Linked DNA regions of Homo sapiens: all the other regions are linked to region 6. Evidence: promoter capture Hi-C in 16 types of primary human blood cells and fetal thymus (Javierre and others, 2016). All regions are on one chromosome and are shown on one strand. Each heading gives the region's core, a stretch centred on a gene start or on the middle of the fragment in contact. The rest is flanking DNA. Distances are from core to core; before and after follow the strand shown.

Region 1 (2,700 bases), core at 40-2,539, 270 kb before region 6:
GAACCCCAAACACATCACCGATACAATACATATAAACAATACACACATACAAATACTCTAAATCTTAAAGTAGGTTTTATTTTACTGTATCAATATCTGTACGGCCTACATTAATTTAAAAACTAATTTCATATATATAACTTCAAACCACAGCAGCAAAAGGAAAGGACACATTTCAAAGTACTCCCAAATAGTACATTTTAACTATTTTTCCACCCTCCTGCGACCCACTAGCCAATAAGCTTATGGTATAAATATCTTATTCAAAATTGTAATTGGTACTTGCTGCTCTTTGTCAGGATAACATAAGGAGATAGCAGCTGATGCTATTCAATTTTACCAAGACTTCAGAGAATATCAAGTGTAAATTTCCAAAGGCTAGGTTAATATATAAATTATACAAATAGATCATATTTAATGAGAAAAGTTTTGCTTTATCATAACAAAAAATACTCAAGGACAAAGGTCTAAAACTAATTTCTCCAATTTCTTAGCAACAATAAAGGTAATCTTCGAATGTTAAAGTGCTATGTTTTTGAATGTTACATTTTTTTAAAAACTACCATCATTCTATTCAATCTTCCCAACTGAGAGTGCTCCCTTTTAGTAGGAAAAAACCTGCATTCAAACTAAAGAGTTACCCTCTGAAGAACTAGATTCTACTCCCACTTCTCTCTGGGATTATATGCTGATTCTAAAAAATTTAACTCAAACATGTTAAGATTTCAGGTTCCCATCGATAAAGAAGCAAACAAAAAGTAAAGGCTTTGTTTCCAGAGTACAGAATATTGAAAGTAAAAATGGTTTCATACATCATTTTTGTGTTATTTGTGAAGAAATAAAGCAAGTGAATAAAGGTTTCTAACAATTGTAACTAATGCAAATCAGCAGTATACCTAAACATTGAAGGAGCATGCAATAGGGCTCTCTCCTCTCTCTCCTTTTTTCTTTTATTTTTTTCTTAGGCAGGGTCTTACTGTGTCACCCAGGCTGGAGTGCAGTGGCCTGATCACAGCTCACTGCAGCCTTGACCTCCTGGGCCAAGCTATCCTCCCTCCTAAGCCCTCCAAGTTGCTGGAACTACAGGCGCACACCACCACGCGCTGCCTTTTTTTTTTTTTTTTTTTTTTTTTTTTGGTAGAGACAGGGTTTTGTGACCCACACTCCTCAGCCTCTCAAAATGCTGGGATTACAGGCTGGAGCCACTGCACCCAGCCTGTCTCTCATTTTGAAAACAAAAATGCCTTTAAAGTTAAAACACCATGAATAAAAATCAACAACAAGGAAACTAGTGTTCAGCAAATTTCAAAATAATAATTGTACTAAAAATGTCACCAGCTGATTAAAGAAATAGATATTTTCAATTCAAATTGACATTATAGTCATCCCTTGGTATCCTCGGGGGACTGGCACCAAGATATAGATAGCAAAAACCAAAGACGCTCAAGTCCCTGATATAAAATGGCATAGTATTTGCATGTAACCTACGCATATCTTCCTGTATACTTGAAATCACCTCTGGATTACTTATACTACATAATACAATGTAAATGCTATATAAATAGTGTAATACTGTATTTTTAAATTTAGTATAGTTTTTAATTGTTGTAGTGTTATTTTTTATTATGTGATGTTTTTTCCTCCGAATAATTTTGATCTGCAGTTGGCTGAATACACAGATGTGGACAGAACCCACAGATCCAAAGGACTGATTATATGACTATTATCTCAGCTTAAAGTACAGGAAGTACAGGGGAAAATATGCATGCCTGAGTTCTCAAAACTAAAGAAGCACCAAGTGACAGACAATTCAATATATTTATATCCAAGTTAGTAAACATCTGTTTTGAAACTAAAAATTAAATAATTTTGCATTTTATTGTAGATAAATCACATAATGGTTTTTATCATTGTTTTGAACACAAACAGCACATTCGGTTTTCTCCCTAACCAATGGATTTTCTCAGATTCAAACATATAATAAATAAAAACACCTAAAAATCTGTTTATTATAAATTAGAAAGTATTCTCTAAAATTTGTGACAAATTCAAAGGAGAATAAGAATTGATGCTCAGGAGAGATTAATGATTAACATTGCAAATTCACTATGGGCCATTAATGCTACTGATAAAATACTATTAAAAGCCAAAATCATGGAATTATTACTATGATTACAAATATGACAATTCATTAAGCACTTACTTGAGACCAGACACTAATTAAGTACTTCACATAAACCAATCCTTAAAACATAAGACAGGCAATATGCCCATTTTACAGGTGGGGATAATTGAGGTATGGGGTTTAAAGAACTCATCCAAGGTTACAAAGCTTAACAGAGTCAAGAAGCAAACCCAGATTTTTCTGAGTCTAAAGCACATATACTTATCCCATGTGCTCTGATGATTTCTCACAAAGCAAACATTTAACATAATTTGTTGTATAATGTTACTGTAGTAGAAAAGTCAGGAACTTAGACATGCCTATAACACATTCTCAAAGGAATTAAAAGTTACAAGTAACTACTCTTGCCACAAAATAAAATGTATGCTAACAAAGCATATTTATAGGAATATACTTAATGATGAAATAGCACACCCCAATTTAAATAAAATATTTACACATATCATATACAAATGGACCAAAAACAAAGAGCAGTGAGTTGTCCTGTACTAGAACAACTCAGTAGAGTTGTTTCT
Region 2 (2,734 bases), core at 84-2,583, 460 kb before region 6:
CTTTTCTTTCTTTCCCTCCTTCCTTCTTTTTCTTTCTTTCTGAATTATTGAAGATTCTTTCTTTCCTTCCTATTTCTTTCATTCTTTCCTTCCTTTCTTTTCTTTCATCTTCTTTTCTTTTTTCTTTTTATCTTTTCTTTTCTTTCTCTCTGTCTCTCTTTCTCTCTTCATTCTTTGGTTCCTAGAGGCTGAATATGGTCAAGTGGTTCAAGCATGGCCTATGGAACCAGACTTGCCTGCCCTGGTCAGGTCTGGGAGACCTTGGGCAAATGTCTTCACCTTTTTTTTTTTTTTTTTTACCCTCTCTGGCCTTAGTTTTCTTGTTTGCTATCAAGCTTGGGAAACAATAGAGCCTTAATAAATAAGAAGTAATGGTCAAATGTGTATGAATGTTCCAGACAATGTGTTAAGTGTTTTGTGCATATCAACTTATTTAATTCTCAAAACAATCCCAAGGGGTAGGGACTGTTATCATTATCACCCAGGTAATAAAATGAGAGAACTGAGCCATAGAAAAGGGTGGCTAGTAAGGCAAACTAGGATTCACACCCAGGTAGGCTGGCTTCAGAGAGAGTTTTTCACCACTCTGCTATACAGCCTTTTGTTGAAGTTAGCTTTCTCCCCACACATAAATGTGCGTATATTTATTGGGTATCTACTATGTGCCAGTCACTCTGCTAAAATATACCAAGAAACTGAATTGGAAATGAACTGGAAATACAGAAATAAATAAGACAAAGTTTCTGCTCCTGTGGAGTTATTTTTCTTTTCTTACACTTTGTCAACTTAGATGACATGGGTTCAATTTTCATCTGAGTTCAAAAAACATTACTCAAGATGATTCTCAGTTGAATTCAACAGAATTAATAGCTAAACTCTGAGACAGGAGTGGTGGCTCACTTGAGACCAGGAGCTCAAGACCAGCATAGGCAACATGGGGAAACTTATCTCTACAAAAAATACAAAAATTAGGAAGGCTTGGTGGAGCAGGCCTGTAGTCCCAGCTACTTGGGAAGATGAGATGGGAGGATCACTTGAGCCCAGGAAGTTGAGGCTGCAGTGAGCCATAATCATGCCACTGCTCTCCAGCCTGGGTGAAAGAGTAAGACCCTGTCTCAAAAGAAAAAAAAAAAAAAAAGAAAGAAAAAGAAACCTCTAAAACCAAGATATACCAAAATAGTTTCAATTTGAATTCATATTTAGCCTTGAAAGCCCTTTATGAATCTTTCAGTAATTACATCAAGACAGTATGGCGTCTCTTTTAATTTGTGTCTTTAAAATGATGAACTAAATGCTTTTTCTGGCCTCTGCTCTCAAGAGCCCACAAAATTTCTGAAATTTAACAATTTAAATCCTCCCCAGCCCACCTCTCTTAATAGAGACACTTCCATTCCCCAGATCTGCCTTCAGAAGGGGCAACATTAACTCTACTGCAAGAAAAGGGTCCCTCACTCTACTTCTGCAATAAGTTTCTAAAGCATGTTCCACTAGAGAGGGAATTAATGATAAGGAAATATTCATCCAAAGCAGCCATTAAATTCATTTTAACTTGCAAACAATAATGTTGCCTTGTAGTTACTATTTGTCCTGATTTTTAATACAGAGCTTCAGATTCATGTTATTTTTAATTTTTCACAAAAACTTCCCTGCTAAATGTAAGATTTAACCAAACACAGATTCTCTTCATTCAATATAAATGACAAGTGCTCACCATGTCCCCAGGCACCAGACTGAAACTACAAGGGTGTGTGTTGCTTTAGTAGAGAGGAAACAGGCAGATAAAAACCAACTATATCCAGTATATTAACAGATGATACTCAGAAAACTGGAAGCAAAAAGGAGGAAGAGCTGAATATGTTTCTGTATAGTATAACCTTTCATAAAATGTGAGCCTGAAATGGAAGTAGTTGGGTTATGAATCGAGGGGGAAACATTTGGAGTTTTTCATGCCGAAATAACCATGTCACTATTTTCAAGTATTCTGAGAAGTGGAGAAGCACAAATATACAAAGAGACCCCCCACCCCCACCAGCAAAAGGTGGAGAATCTTGTTAAAAGTTGTAAACATCTTACCATAGTTTAGAGAGTTCTGACAGTTAAATAATTGCAATAAATGTTCCCTATAGTACTGGGATTATAAAGAAGTCATGTATCCTGCACAAGAAATAAAAAGCATCCTTTCAAAGGGGTGACCGGCAGCTTCGATTGTCAAGGTGGTAGTCTGAACGGACTTCATGATATGGAGAGGTCAAGTAGAGGAATTGGATGCTGCCTGATAGGCAGAACGACAACCAATATTGCCTCTACAGAAATAATAAGAAGAAAGCTTTTTTGATTCTTTCATTTTGGAATTGAGTGTATGGAACCACAGGATGTTTTTAAGGGATCATTTATTAAACTTGGAATTGAACTACTTTATGAACTCCACTGTAATTTTGTGTTATTGGGTTTTAAAAATTAAGCAACTTTTTTTTTTCTTTTGGTCGAGGGGAAGCAGGGTATATATCTGTTTTTCTGGGTGTTCTTCCCGTGACTCCTATAGATAGTAGCCCAAAGACGTCTTCTTTTCCAGTATTTAATGAAGTATCCTACGGGCAGATCATTTTGGTAGCCTTTCCGGAGCTGGTGCAACGAAGCAGATCCACAGTTGCCCGATAATCAGGCCAAGGCATACTTTCCAAGGTGCGTTTTTCATATCGAATTTAAGCGCGGGTCCTGCCCGTTGTTTGCAAAC
Region 3 (2,700 bases), core at 55-2,554, 350 kb before region 6:
TCAAGTGATCCACCCGCCTCAGCCTCCCAGTGTTGGGATTACAGGCGTGAGCCCAGTAATTCTTTTAAAAGCTCTTTTGTTTTGTTTGCTGACTCGACCCAGTCCAGTATCACACGTTGCATTTAGTTGTTATAATGCTGAGCACTTTTTAGCCCACATTAAACGTGTGTCTGATTTGTCACTCTCACTGATTAAGAAATCTCAGATAAATGAAAGCTTGATTCTGCAATTAATCCGGAAGTTACAACTCTTGAAGTACAGCCATGAGTATCAGAACATACTGTTCCAACGGCGGAAGTGGCTACATCATTAAATTATCCTGTTGAATAAATGACATAACTCATTCAGAAATGGAGCAGGGCATACAGGTAGGAAAAATGTTAACTGCTCACCACCTCTCATCGTCTGTAGTCAGGGACACAGACAGTTTGCAGCAGAGGCTGACATTCTGCCCTTGTCAAAGTCACAGACACTGGGAGCTAGGCATCTTTCAAGGTAGCTCTTCTCCCTCCCATGGAAGGCATCCCACGGAAGACCCCACCACGGTCTTCCAGCTTCGCCTTCAATGCTTATCATGGGTAGCCTGGAACCCAGAATGCCTGGGTTCCAGCTTAGCTATGTGACATTGAGCGGGTCACTTAAACACTCTTTAGCGGCCCAGCTTCTTTAGCTAATGAGAGCACACTGCCATCTGCCTCAACTGCACCTGAAGACTGTTAAGGGGAGCAAACAAGAAAGAATGTGGGAAGGCATCACCCTTCACCAGGTCAGCCATCACTGACTTGACAAGGAGCTTGCTACTGTCACGCTGGGTGCCTTTGCTGCCCTAACAGCTCTTCCCCTGGGTCCACTGTCCTCCACTAAGGAGAAAGGCATTGAATCAGTCCTTACTGCTTTCTTTACCAGATTAAGCAGCCCCATTTTCTTCAACTAAAATGCCCTTGATCTGGACACTGTACTCAACTTAGTGCAACCTAAGAAGCAGACACCACCCGGACCTTGGGTTTGATCAAGCCAGATATCCCCCATCCCTTGAGCAATTGATCATTTATAACCAAAGAAAGAACTGGCCCTTATTCCCCATGAAATTTCACAGGATTAGTGTTTTGGATGCTTTGGGGTTCTTCCATCTGTCCTCCAGGAAGCTATTCACTCCTTCAAGTCTTGAGTCATCTGAGAATTCTCTGAGCATGGCCTGTCCATCTTCATCCGAGCCACAGACATCACTGTTGACTTGAAGCACACCATCAAAGTTCTCCCTCTAGGATAATGCCAGCCTCTTCACCAGCATTACTTGGGTACGGGTGTTCCCAACAGCTGTGAACCCACAGGACTAGGCTATCACTCATTCATTCGTTCATTCATTCATTCATGCATTCAGAGCTGCTGAGCACCCACTGTGAGCCAGCCCTGCACTTGGCACTAGCCCCTCAAGAAAAAGAGGAGGAAGCTGGCGCACTTATGGCTTTTCCACTCAGATCCTCCTGATTACAAATCCCTGCATCCTCCCTTTCTATCCCTTTAGTATGTCCATCAAGAAGGAAATGACTTCTTTGGAAGGGCCTGGGCATCTGCTTTCTTTGATACACTATTCATAAACATTCAGGGCATAATTTATCAAGAAACTTGGGTGTCAGCTTAGACAACACTGCATCTGAGAACAGTTCCCTATCCCCTGCCCAACTTTCTGAACAGAACACACACACACACATACACCCTTTCCTCCACTGCACCATAAATGGAGAAGCTACATTTACCCAGGACACCACCACCCTCATTGATCGGCCCAGAGGGAATACCTGTGTCAGGTCTCTTACATGCAAATATATAATTGAGTCTAGGAGACTCATCTCTGTCTGGCTGCGCTGTCAAAAAGAGGAACTATCAGCCTTAGCTCTGTGGGCTGCCAAGTTCACGGGCAAGAGAAAATTCAGAGGCCGGGGTACAGCAGAAGCAGCAACAACAGCAGTTGATTTCTTGGTTCTGGTTGACTCCTGAGGCCTGGTGGGTCCCTGCTGTCACTTTTGTGAGACAGCTCTGTACTGTCGGAGTAAGCTCCACTTTCTTTAAGCTATATAAATTGGTTTATATTATTTGCAATTAAAAAATTCCACCCAGCAGGGCACGGTGGTTCATGCCTGTAATCTCAGCACTTTGGGAGGCCCAGGTGGGCGGATCACTTAAGTCCAGGAGTTTGCTAGCAGCCTGGCCAACATGTCAAAACCCCGTCTCTAGAAAAAATACAAAAATTAGCTGGGTGTGTTGGCGTATGCCTGTAATCCCAGCTACTTGGGAGGCTGAGGCACAAGGATCACTTGAACCAGGAGGTGGAGGTTGCAGTGAGCCAAGATCACACCACCACACTCCAGCCTGGGTGACAGAGCAAGCTTCTGTCTAAAAATAAAAGTAAAAATTCCACTTAATACATAATGCAGAAAAGGTGCCATTAATAGTTGATTTTAGATGTTTTTGTACCCTTTTAGATAACTAGGAACATTGTTGATTTTGTTCCTAGTTACTGATTTTTTATTGTTACTGATATTCCATTGCCACTCTTCCACTTTCTCCGGGAAATCTCAGTAGTTAACACATCTACAGGTCTGTCCTTATCTGGAAATGTATTTCATCTAAACCGAGAAGCTCCAATTCAGGTAAGCCACCAGGGGCCAGCCCACACTCTGCCCCTGTCCTGAGGTCCAG
Region 4 (2,877 bases), core at 369-2,868, 300 kb before region 6:
CTTTTATAACAATTAAATTTTAATTACTCCTTCCACCTTTTTGGGTTTCTTGTTCTGATGGAGGGGAAGGAAATCTCTTAAGGTCTCCAAAACACCATGGTCAAAATCAGTCAAACTTAATTCCATGCATGTTCACAGCATGACTTAGGGGTACTTTATCTGACGGACAAATAAAACTTCTTTAAGAGATACTACCCAGTTTTTGAGGGACATGATGTCGCAGTCATATTTTTATACTCATTAAGTTAAACTTGTTCATAAGTATCCATGGAAACAATTTTGGAAAGTCCACGTTCTAAAAGAGGGAAAAAAATTGGTCTCAGCTGCCCAATTGTTCGGCTACTTATCCCAGAGCCCATCTACAGTATAGAGCCAGTCTCTCGCCACTTCTGCAGGGTTCTTGGTAATGAATGCAATTTGTACAAGTGTAAGCCTCTGGTACTTCAGCTAAGCCTGGCAGTGAAGCACTAGCATGCCACTCTGCTAGCATCAACACTCAGAGATGGTGTAACTCAGATGTAACTTTAACTATTGTAAATTATTACCATCAAAATATCTTCATAAGATTTTTGCGGAATGGGACCAAAAGCTCAGTTTTGTTTGGAAAATTGAATAAAAAGTACATATTAGGAAGAAAGTTACTAAAACATGTAATTGGCAGTGAGTGGAAATTTTGTTGTTTACAGGAGTAACCCATTTAAAACTACAACATATTTAGGCCAAGGCAAGCAAATCGCTTGAGGTCAGGAGTTCGAGACCAGCCTGGCTAACATGGTGAAACCCCACCTCTAACAAAAAATAAATAAAAATGAGCCAGGCATGGTGGTGTGCGTCTGTAAGCTCACTTACTCGGGAGACTGAGGTGGAAGAACTGCTTGAACTTGGGAGGCAGAGGTTGAAGTGAGCCAAGATCATGCCACTGCACTCCAGCCTGGGTGACAGAGTGAGACTCTGTCTTAAAAAACAAAAAACAACTACAATACATTTAACTAGAGGCAATTTCTTTAGCCATAAATTAGATACATTATGCTAAAACTGTATCTATATGTTTATAAATCTTCTAAGAGTTTTCCTAAAATCAGTACTTTGGTGTTTTATATGAGATTTTAAAATAACTGGCTAGACAGACACAATGTCTTGGCAATTCCACATCTATGTAAACACCCAGAAATATGCCATGGGTTCATCAAAAGATATGTATAAGGATGACTACTATTCACAAGAGCCCTAAGCTAGAAACAATCCGAGTGAGTACATTAAGAGTACAATAAATTGTGGAATAGTCATACCATGGAATAATACACAGCAATAACGACTGGGTAACATGAAAGAGTATCACAAAAATGTTCAATGAAAGGAACCAGACACAAAGGAATTCATACTGTATGATTCAATTTCTACCAAGTCCCAGAACAGGCAAAGCTAAAAAAAAGTCAGGAGAGTGAGTTCCCATGGGGGAGATGAGAAGTGATTAGAAAGAGACTGAAGTTTTCTGGAGTTCTGGTGATGTTTCCTTCTTGATCTAACTACTGCCTACATGAATGTGTTCATGCTGTGAAAACTGTGGTGAGCTTATGACTTGTGTACTTTCTATATTGATGCTATATTTCAATAAAAAAAATTAAATTGCTACCCCAAAAACCTTGCCTCAGGAGGAAATTAACATGGAAGCAAAGAGAGGGGGGAAAGGAAAGACAATAAGGCAAAATTGTCAAACAGAAAAAAAAAATAAAGAGACCTAATCATCTGAGTAAGGAACAAAGGGGTCACAGTTCATGTTTGTCATGTGACAAGCCTGAAGGATTCAGGGGAAAGAGCCATATTACAGCTGCCAGCACAGAGTTGAAAAGAAGGTCATTCCAACAGGATGCAGCAGAGAGCCTGAGGCAATGTTATAAATGAAAAAAACCCCAAGGGACATTCAGTAACCCAACAGAAATGTCTTTCATAATTCACAACTTTATGAAGGTGATAGCATTCTCTTCCCCCAAATAGCAGCTAACTTAGAAAGTCAATCTTTCTTGAATCTGAATACAAAATATATAGCATTTTTATTCCTGAGCTTTGATTTGGCAAAGTCCACAACTGTAACTTGTCAATCACAATGACCTGGCCAGAATAACCAGCTACTCTCAGTTATCCACAGTCAAGGGGGTAGAGAGTGCACAGGTAACTTACAGCCATAAAAACCAAACCTGCTTTTTCACCATCAGTTTTAATTTTCCTCTGCCTCACCAAGTCCTTTCCCCAGAGTTGACTAGGACTGATTTCTGGTCACATTAGAAATCACAAAGAATACTAATGTGGTTAAGGGCCCAGAGTTTGCAAGAAGAAGAAGAAGAAGAAGAAAAAAAAAAAAAAACGCTGTTTATTCTTCTCACTGTTAGTGTACTGTTCACTTCGGAAATAGAAGGTTTTCCCATGTAACTTTCTACATGAGGATATTCCTTAATCTGGATTCTTCACCTGGATGAAAATGAAAGATGAAACGACCAATTCATTTCCCAGGTGCACAAAAGATGTCCTAGGAAGCCTACTCAAACCTAAATGTTAACATCTTCTAAAATTGCCAGATCAATTATGTTAGCCTTCATAATTGTTACTCATTAATGTTACCCAGCCCACTAACAACTTATCTCACCTAATTTGTTTTGTTATACCACTGAACTAAGTTTCTTGTTTTTATAATGAAACTTCTGAGGAACTCTATTGCTCTAACAAGAAAAAATGGAAAATCATCAGTTATCAATTTTAGATAAATAACACCATTTTAATAATGATACTAAATAACCAAAAATAACTAGTAATCCAATTTTTATCCCTCAACTTAATACAGCAGTGTTGTGAAATAAAACCTTTAAAGATTTTTCTACTTCT
Region 5 (2,700 bases), core at 196-2,695, 320 kb before region 6:
CTTGAATGGAATTTTTATAATATTAGGCAATGATATGCAAGAGGACTGAGAAAGGAAAGAACCTGATAGCAGAGGCATAGCCAGGGAGCCTGGTGCACTCATCCAGGGATGAGTCCTAAACCAAAGCAAAGACAGCTGGAATCGAGAGAGATTTTGTGGAGGCTGAGCCACCTTCACAGGGGGTGAGAAAGAGAGGAGTAAGAAATTGGGAAAGATCAAACAAAACTGAGATTGTTGAGCCTAAAGGAACCAGGAAGTGATGGAAGAGATGAACATATTGAGGAAAGGGAGCCTTCTTGAGCAGAGGGGCATCAAATGAAAATGTCTGGAAAAAATTTAAGAATTCAGATTTTGGTTTTCGAAGAAATTAGGGAAGGAGAATGAAGATGCGAAAAGCAGCCCCATCCATAATAGCTAAAGTCACAAACGTGGGGCGGGGGTCCCTCAGTATAGGAAGGAAAGCTGTGAGCTGAGAACAGGCTTGGGTGGAGGGGAGGAAGAGTGGTCAGAGGGCAGGAGACCCTGGCAGCACCCCAGGGCCACACTAGGCAGAGGTCGCTCTCCCACCAGGGGTGCTCAGAGTATCAAACAGAAGCTGCAGATAGGACATGGCTGTGGTAATCGGAAGGAAACTCATTTTTAAGAGTGTAGTCTAAGTAGAGTGGTGAGAGTGGAGGTCAGATTACAGACGGTTAAAGAAAGATGCAGGGTAAAGAAAGAAGACAGAAGTCACAGACCATATGTTTAAGATATTTAGAAAAAGAAAGATAAAAAGGGAAATAGCAGGATTAAGCAGAGATTTTTTTCTTTCCCTTCAAGTTCCAAAATACTCGAATGTGTCTGACCATAGAAAGGAGGGATCTAGTGAAAATGAAGACAGAGTAAAGAAAAGAGATTGTTGAAGAGACTGATTTCTAAGGAAGGCAAGAAGCATTTACAATGAGCCACTATATGCAAAGTATTATGTTTCGCACAGTAAGAAATAATGCAGAAAATGGTGTCTTCTCTAAGGAACTCACAATTTAGAAGGAGAAACGACAGTTATGCAAATAATTCCCTTTTACAACAGTGTAAGTCCTGTGTTAATGTTATGTTAATAACAAAGTGCTCTTGGAGTCGAGAGGAAATTAGGGATGAAGGGGGAAGGGACATTTCAAAAGGCATCACAGGGGAGAAAGTACTAAACTCAGCCTTGAACGATTAGTAAGAATATAATTGGCAAAAGATCATGAGCAAAGAAAGAGGAATTTTGGCCACAAAAATGGAATTCATAGCAAGGGTAGAGGATTTGGCCTTAGAAAGGAGGGGCAATTCTCCAAGGGAGACTTGGGGGGAAGAATAAGTAGGAAAGATTAAGTGGATAAAGAGGTATTGTAAAGTAGAGAGGATAGGAGAGGAGAGAACTCATACCTGATGGTGTCTCCATACTTGTAGGAAAGCAGAGGGCCAGGGGTCAAGGCCAAGAGGAAAAAGATTTTAAATAGCAGTGAACATTCAGGTGAATGAAGTTAGAAACTCCCAAAACTTTGTCTAGCAAGAATTGGCACTCTGGGAATAGGAACTAGAATAGTAACTGTCGAGAGGACTGTAGCTTCCCGAAGTCTGATGGAGAAGATACTCTGGCCTATCCTCATATGGAAAATAATGAACAATGCTGATATACAGAAAGCATTGATGAGTTTGGCAAAAAAAAAAAAAAAAAAAAAAAGTAAGTGACTGAAAACCAAGCAAAGGTGAGAGTGAAAGCCCAGAAAAATAAGCAGAATTCTAATGCCACCTTATATCTTAATAACATTTACTCTAAAAGTAAATTTGAATTTTTATTTTCACAGCCTTGCTGGGTGAAAAAAACAGGGCCTGGTCAAGGTGGGGAGGCCAATAGAAGAGCCCCCTCCATAAATCTAGAACCCTAATGGGTTATATCTTCCAGTTAATTAACTAGGAAATAGATTCACCCACTCCCTCCCTCAAGGGGAAGCAAGGAGTTTGCCTCTTTCAACCTTGAACCTGAGTAGAAGAAAAAAACCTCAAGTTGAATATTTAGTTAAAAGATGCCTATGACTGGTGGTTCCCCCAGATGCCTGGAAGAGGTAAGTACAAACCTTCCCAAGAGAAACTTACTCAACCTAGCATCAAATAATTTCTACAGATATGAGCTCACAGTCAAAAATCACGAAATAGGCCAGGCATGGTGGCTCATGCCTGTAATCCCAGCACTTTGGGAGGCCTAGACAGGAAGATCACTTGAGTCCAGGAGATCGAGACCAGCCTGGGCAACACAGGGAGACCTCAGCTCTACAAAAAATCAGAAAAATAAAAAAATTAGCCAGGTGTGATGGTGCGCACCTCCAGTCCCAGCTACATGGGAGGCTGGCACAGGAGAATTGCTTGAGCCCAGGAGGTTGAGGCTGCAGTGAGCCAAGATTACACGATTGTACTCCAGCCTGGGTGACAGAGTGAGACCTGTCTCAAAAAAAAAAAAAAAAAAAGTAATAATCATGTCTTATAGAGTTAAAAATTAGAACCAAAATATAAGACACCAATAGCACATGATCTAAGATTAGGGAAGGGGTTTGTTGATAGGATTTAAAGTATTCTGAACTATATACTATTTAGAGAGAAAAAATACTAATTAACTTCAGACTGATAAGTTAGAATTTTTAGAATAATAATAAAGAATAAAGTGTATCATTCCCAAGC
Region 6 (2,746 bases), core at 243-2,742:
TGCATTTAATCAATGACATTCTTGACATTTTTGTGAAGAGCATTTATTTGATACTTAATTTTTCTTTTTTTTTTTTTGAGACAGGGTCTTGCTGTGTCACCCAGGGTGGAGTGTGGTGGGGCAGTCATGGCTTACTGCAGTCTCCACCCCCTTGGCTCAAGTGATTCTTCCACCTCAGCCTCCTTAGTAGCTGGAACTACAGGTGCACACCACCATACCCAGCCAATTTTTAAAATTCTTGTAGAGACAGAGGTCTCACTTTGTTGCCCAGGCTGGTCTCAAACTCCTGGCCTCAAGTGATTAAATTTTTAAAATAATGTATTTTTTCTTTATTTTTCCAATTTATATAAAAATGGAAATATTTTTTATTATTCATTAACGTTGGGTAACACTTTATATAAACTTTCCCTTTGTGTTATATGGAAGTCTAAATTTACAGAATACTTTAAAACCCCACGGCAACACAAAACCCACATTTGTCCGTGTTCCTTCCATAATTTGAAAACTTTGCCTTTTTCCCTTACACTGACTTGAAGCCTGGCAGCTTGGGCCTAATTTACAAGGCACTAAGTAAGTACTCTCTTAAAAAACAGAGAGTGAGGATGCCCTGTTTCACAACTTAATTCCAAAAAGCCAAGTCAGACGAAATCGACCCACTTTCCTGCTAAGGGTTTGTCCCAAGAGGCGAGCTCTTCTCTGTCCGCTCCAGCCAAGCTGGCCGATTGCCCCTGAGCACTGGACACAACCTTGGTGTCCCGGTTTCGGGTCAGGGTTACTTTCCAATTGTTAGGCACGACTTTGTGCGTGCGTGCGAGACTGTGGACTCGGAGGTGCGCATTTGGGGCGTAGCCGAGCCATTTAAACCAGCGAATCCGCGTTCACCTTGTCCTTCCACCTCTGCCCTATCTCGGCAGATGCTCCACGGATTTGCACGAACTCCCGAGTCTTGACCTCCCTCCCCTCTCCGGGCTGCCGGGACAACTCGGGGCGGCCACTCTTGCCAGGAGGCGTAAGTAAGGATGAAGTTGGAAAAACTGAACTAGGTCTAGGGCACGCTCTGCAACACAGTCGGGGAGACGCTTCAGAGGGCCGGAGAGGGAGGCAAGTTGCCACGGCGCGAAGGGGGCGGGCCGGCTTGGGCCGCTCGCATTTCCTGTGACAGGGGCTGCCCCAGCCTCTCCTTCTCCCGCGGCGGCGGGACCATTTCCTGAATCGCTGAAGCGGAGGGAGGACTAGGGCGCGACTCTACCATTAGCGCAAAGGGCCAGGGGGTGCCCATAAGGAGAGCTCGGGGGATGCAGGGACGGTCAAGAAAGTTCGGCCAGGGCTAGGGGTCCCCCAGAGTGCGCAGAAGCGAGACATCCCTGGCCAGAGTGCCTCCTTCAGGCCTGCCCCGCCGCCCGTCCGCTTGGCCCCGGAGCATCCCCCCTCCCCGCATTCCCGAGGTGGTTCAGCCCGAGAGGCCGGCGTCTCTCCCCCAGTTTGCCGTTCACCCGGAGCGCTCGGGACTTGCCGATAGTGGTGACGGCGGCAACATGTCTGTGGCTTTCGCGGCCCCGAGGCAGCGAGGCAAGGGGGAGATCACTCCCGCTGCGATTCAGAAGGTGAAACCGCGCGGGGTTGCGGATGCCAGGCCCTTACCGCCTCTGGGAGAGACAGACGCGGGGGGAAGGGCCGGGCCCGGAGTCGACCGGGCCGAGGCGGAGGCGGGCCTGCTGGGAATCAGCAGTGTTTGGGAACACGGACTGCTGGCTGTGCCTGAGTGGGTGGCGGAAGAGGGTGAACCGGTTTTTCTCGGAGTCTTTCACGCATTTACGCGTTTTTCTACAGACACAAAAGCCCAAACAGCCGCCGCCTGATTTCTCTAGGGATGGGGCGGCGTTCGGGCTGCGGGGCGCGTGCGCCCGGCGGCGGCCGCTCAGGGAAGGGCGTGTGTCGGACCGGCGGCCCCGCGCGTTGCTCCGGAGTTACTTTGGCGTCGCCCCGCCCCGCGTGCCGCGGCTGCTTCGTGCGGACCCCACCGCGGGTCGCGGCAGGCAGAGGGGAAGTCGGTGCGCTGGTCGCCGCCCTGCAAACTCAGCCGAGTTTGGGAGCTCGCAGGAGGACTTGGGGAACGCTGGAGGGAACCTTAGTATAGAGTTTGAGGAGCGGGCAAGGAAGGTCCCCATGGACTCTGGGGTTGTCCCCAGAGCCTCTTCTTCCCTTCTGCATCGCCGCCTATTCATTTATTCTGCAGCAAATATTTATTGAGCGCCTATTTTAGGCGCTGAGGCTACTGTGGTGAGTCATGGTCCTTGCCTTCCTGGAGCTTACAGTCTAATGGTGGAGACTGTCGTGACCAGTTAATGTAAGTCGTGATAAATACACAGGGAGCTGCCTCCTTTTTAAAGGATAGAGCTGCTGCAGTCGCTGCTGTGTTACTGCCAGTCGGAACACAAAGGTTCTTTATTGTCCTCTACCCCTTGTTGCCTGCAAGCAAGGCAGCATTCTAAATTTTACTGACCTAGACTTTCAGAAGTTGCTGCTGTATTTAGCAGTTTACTTTAAATATTTTTGTTTTGTTTTATGCTGTGTAGCAAAGATCAAAATAGAAAAAAAGGTCAAGTTTTAGTACCACTCAGACCACGTAGATTATGCTAATCGGTTTCTGTTTACTGTCAGGTTCTTCGTAGTGTGGCTTTTGACATTTGCCCAACTGTTGCTTTATTTTATGAACAAACGGGCTTGGCAGTGCCTGGAAATGCAG

The links. Contacts are between HindIII fragments. The CHiCAGO score rates a contact against its expected background, and 5 or more counts as called.
Region 1: a fragment that was not itself captured here is called in contact with the fragment with the promoter of SS18 in region 6 in 4 of 17 cell types (activated CD4 T cells, naive CD8 T cells, non-activated CD4 T cells and 1 more); the score reaches 20.6 in activated CD4 T cells.
Region 2: a fragment that was not itself captured here is called in contact with the fragment with the promoter of SS18 in region 6 in 2 of 17 cell types (activated CD4 T cells and naive CD8 T cells); the score reaches 7.1 in activated CD4 T cells.
Region 3: a fragment that was not itself captured here is called in contact with the fragment with the promoter of SS18 in region 6 in 1 of 17 cell types (activated CD4 T cells); the score reaches 5.0 in activated CD4 T cells.
Region 4: a contact is called between a fragment that was not itself captured here and the fragment with the promoter of SS18 in region 6, in 6 of 17 cell types (activated CD4 T cells, non-activated CD4 T cells, naive CD8 T cells and 3 more). The highest score is 18.6, in activated CD4 T cells.
Region 5: a contact is called between a fragment that was not itself captured here and the fragment with the promoter of SS18 in region 6, in 1 of 17 cell types (activated CD4 T cells). The highest score is 5.3, in activated CD4 T cells.

The regions. Positions count from the first base shown.
Region 1 is chr18:26,361,807-26,364,506 of GRCh38, reverse strand. All of the region lies in intron 14 of TAF4B (TATA-box binding protein associated factor 4b), which reads right to left. Among named protein-coding and RNA genes, the nearest start is that of LINC01543, 60 kb to the left of the region's middle. The HindIII fragment of the contact is 2,090 bases long and covers 245-2,334 here.
Region 2 is chr18:26,551,392-26,554,125 of GRCh38, reverse strand. All of the region lies in intron 1 of LOC124904273 (a long non-coding RNA gene), which reads right to left. It also overlaps a transcript of KCTD1 not described here. Among named protein-coding and RNA genes, the nearest start is that of KCTD1, 4.2 kb to the right of the region's middle. RefSeq lists an enhancer at 2,714-2,734. The HindIII fragment of the contact is 1,991 bases long and covers 338-2,328 here.
Region 3 is chr18:26,438,374-26,441,073 of GRCh38, reverse strand. No RefSeq gene overlaps it. Among named protein-coding and RNA genes, the nearest start is that of LINC01543, 17 kb to the right of the region's middle. The HindIII fragment of the contact is 2,171 bases long and covers 219-2,389 here.
Region 4 is chr18:26,385,165-26,388,041 of GRCh38, reverse strand. The region is part of intron 14 of TAF4B (TATA-box binding protein associated factor 4b); the gene reads right to left. Among named protein-coding and RNA genes, the nearest start is that of LINC01543, 36 kb to the left of the region's middle. The HindIII fragment of the contact is 4,105 bases long and covers 1-2,877 here.
Region 5 is chr18:26,413,640-26,416,339 of GRCh38, reverse strand. No RefSeq gene overlaps it. Among named protein-coding and RNA genes, the nearest start is that of LINC01543, 8.0 kb to the left of the region's middle. The HindIII fragment of the contact is 3,518 bases long and covers 1-2,700 here.
Region 6 is chr18:26,089,359-26,092,104 of GRCh38, reverse strand. It overlaps SS18 (SS18 subunit of BAF chromatin remodeling complex), which reads left to right and starts at 1,492. Exons shown (of 11, transcript NM_001007559.3): 1 at 1,492-1,604. The coding sequence starts at 1,536. RefSeq lists an enhancer at 1,038-1,157. The HindIII fragment of the contact is 4,894 bases long and covers 1-2,746 here.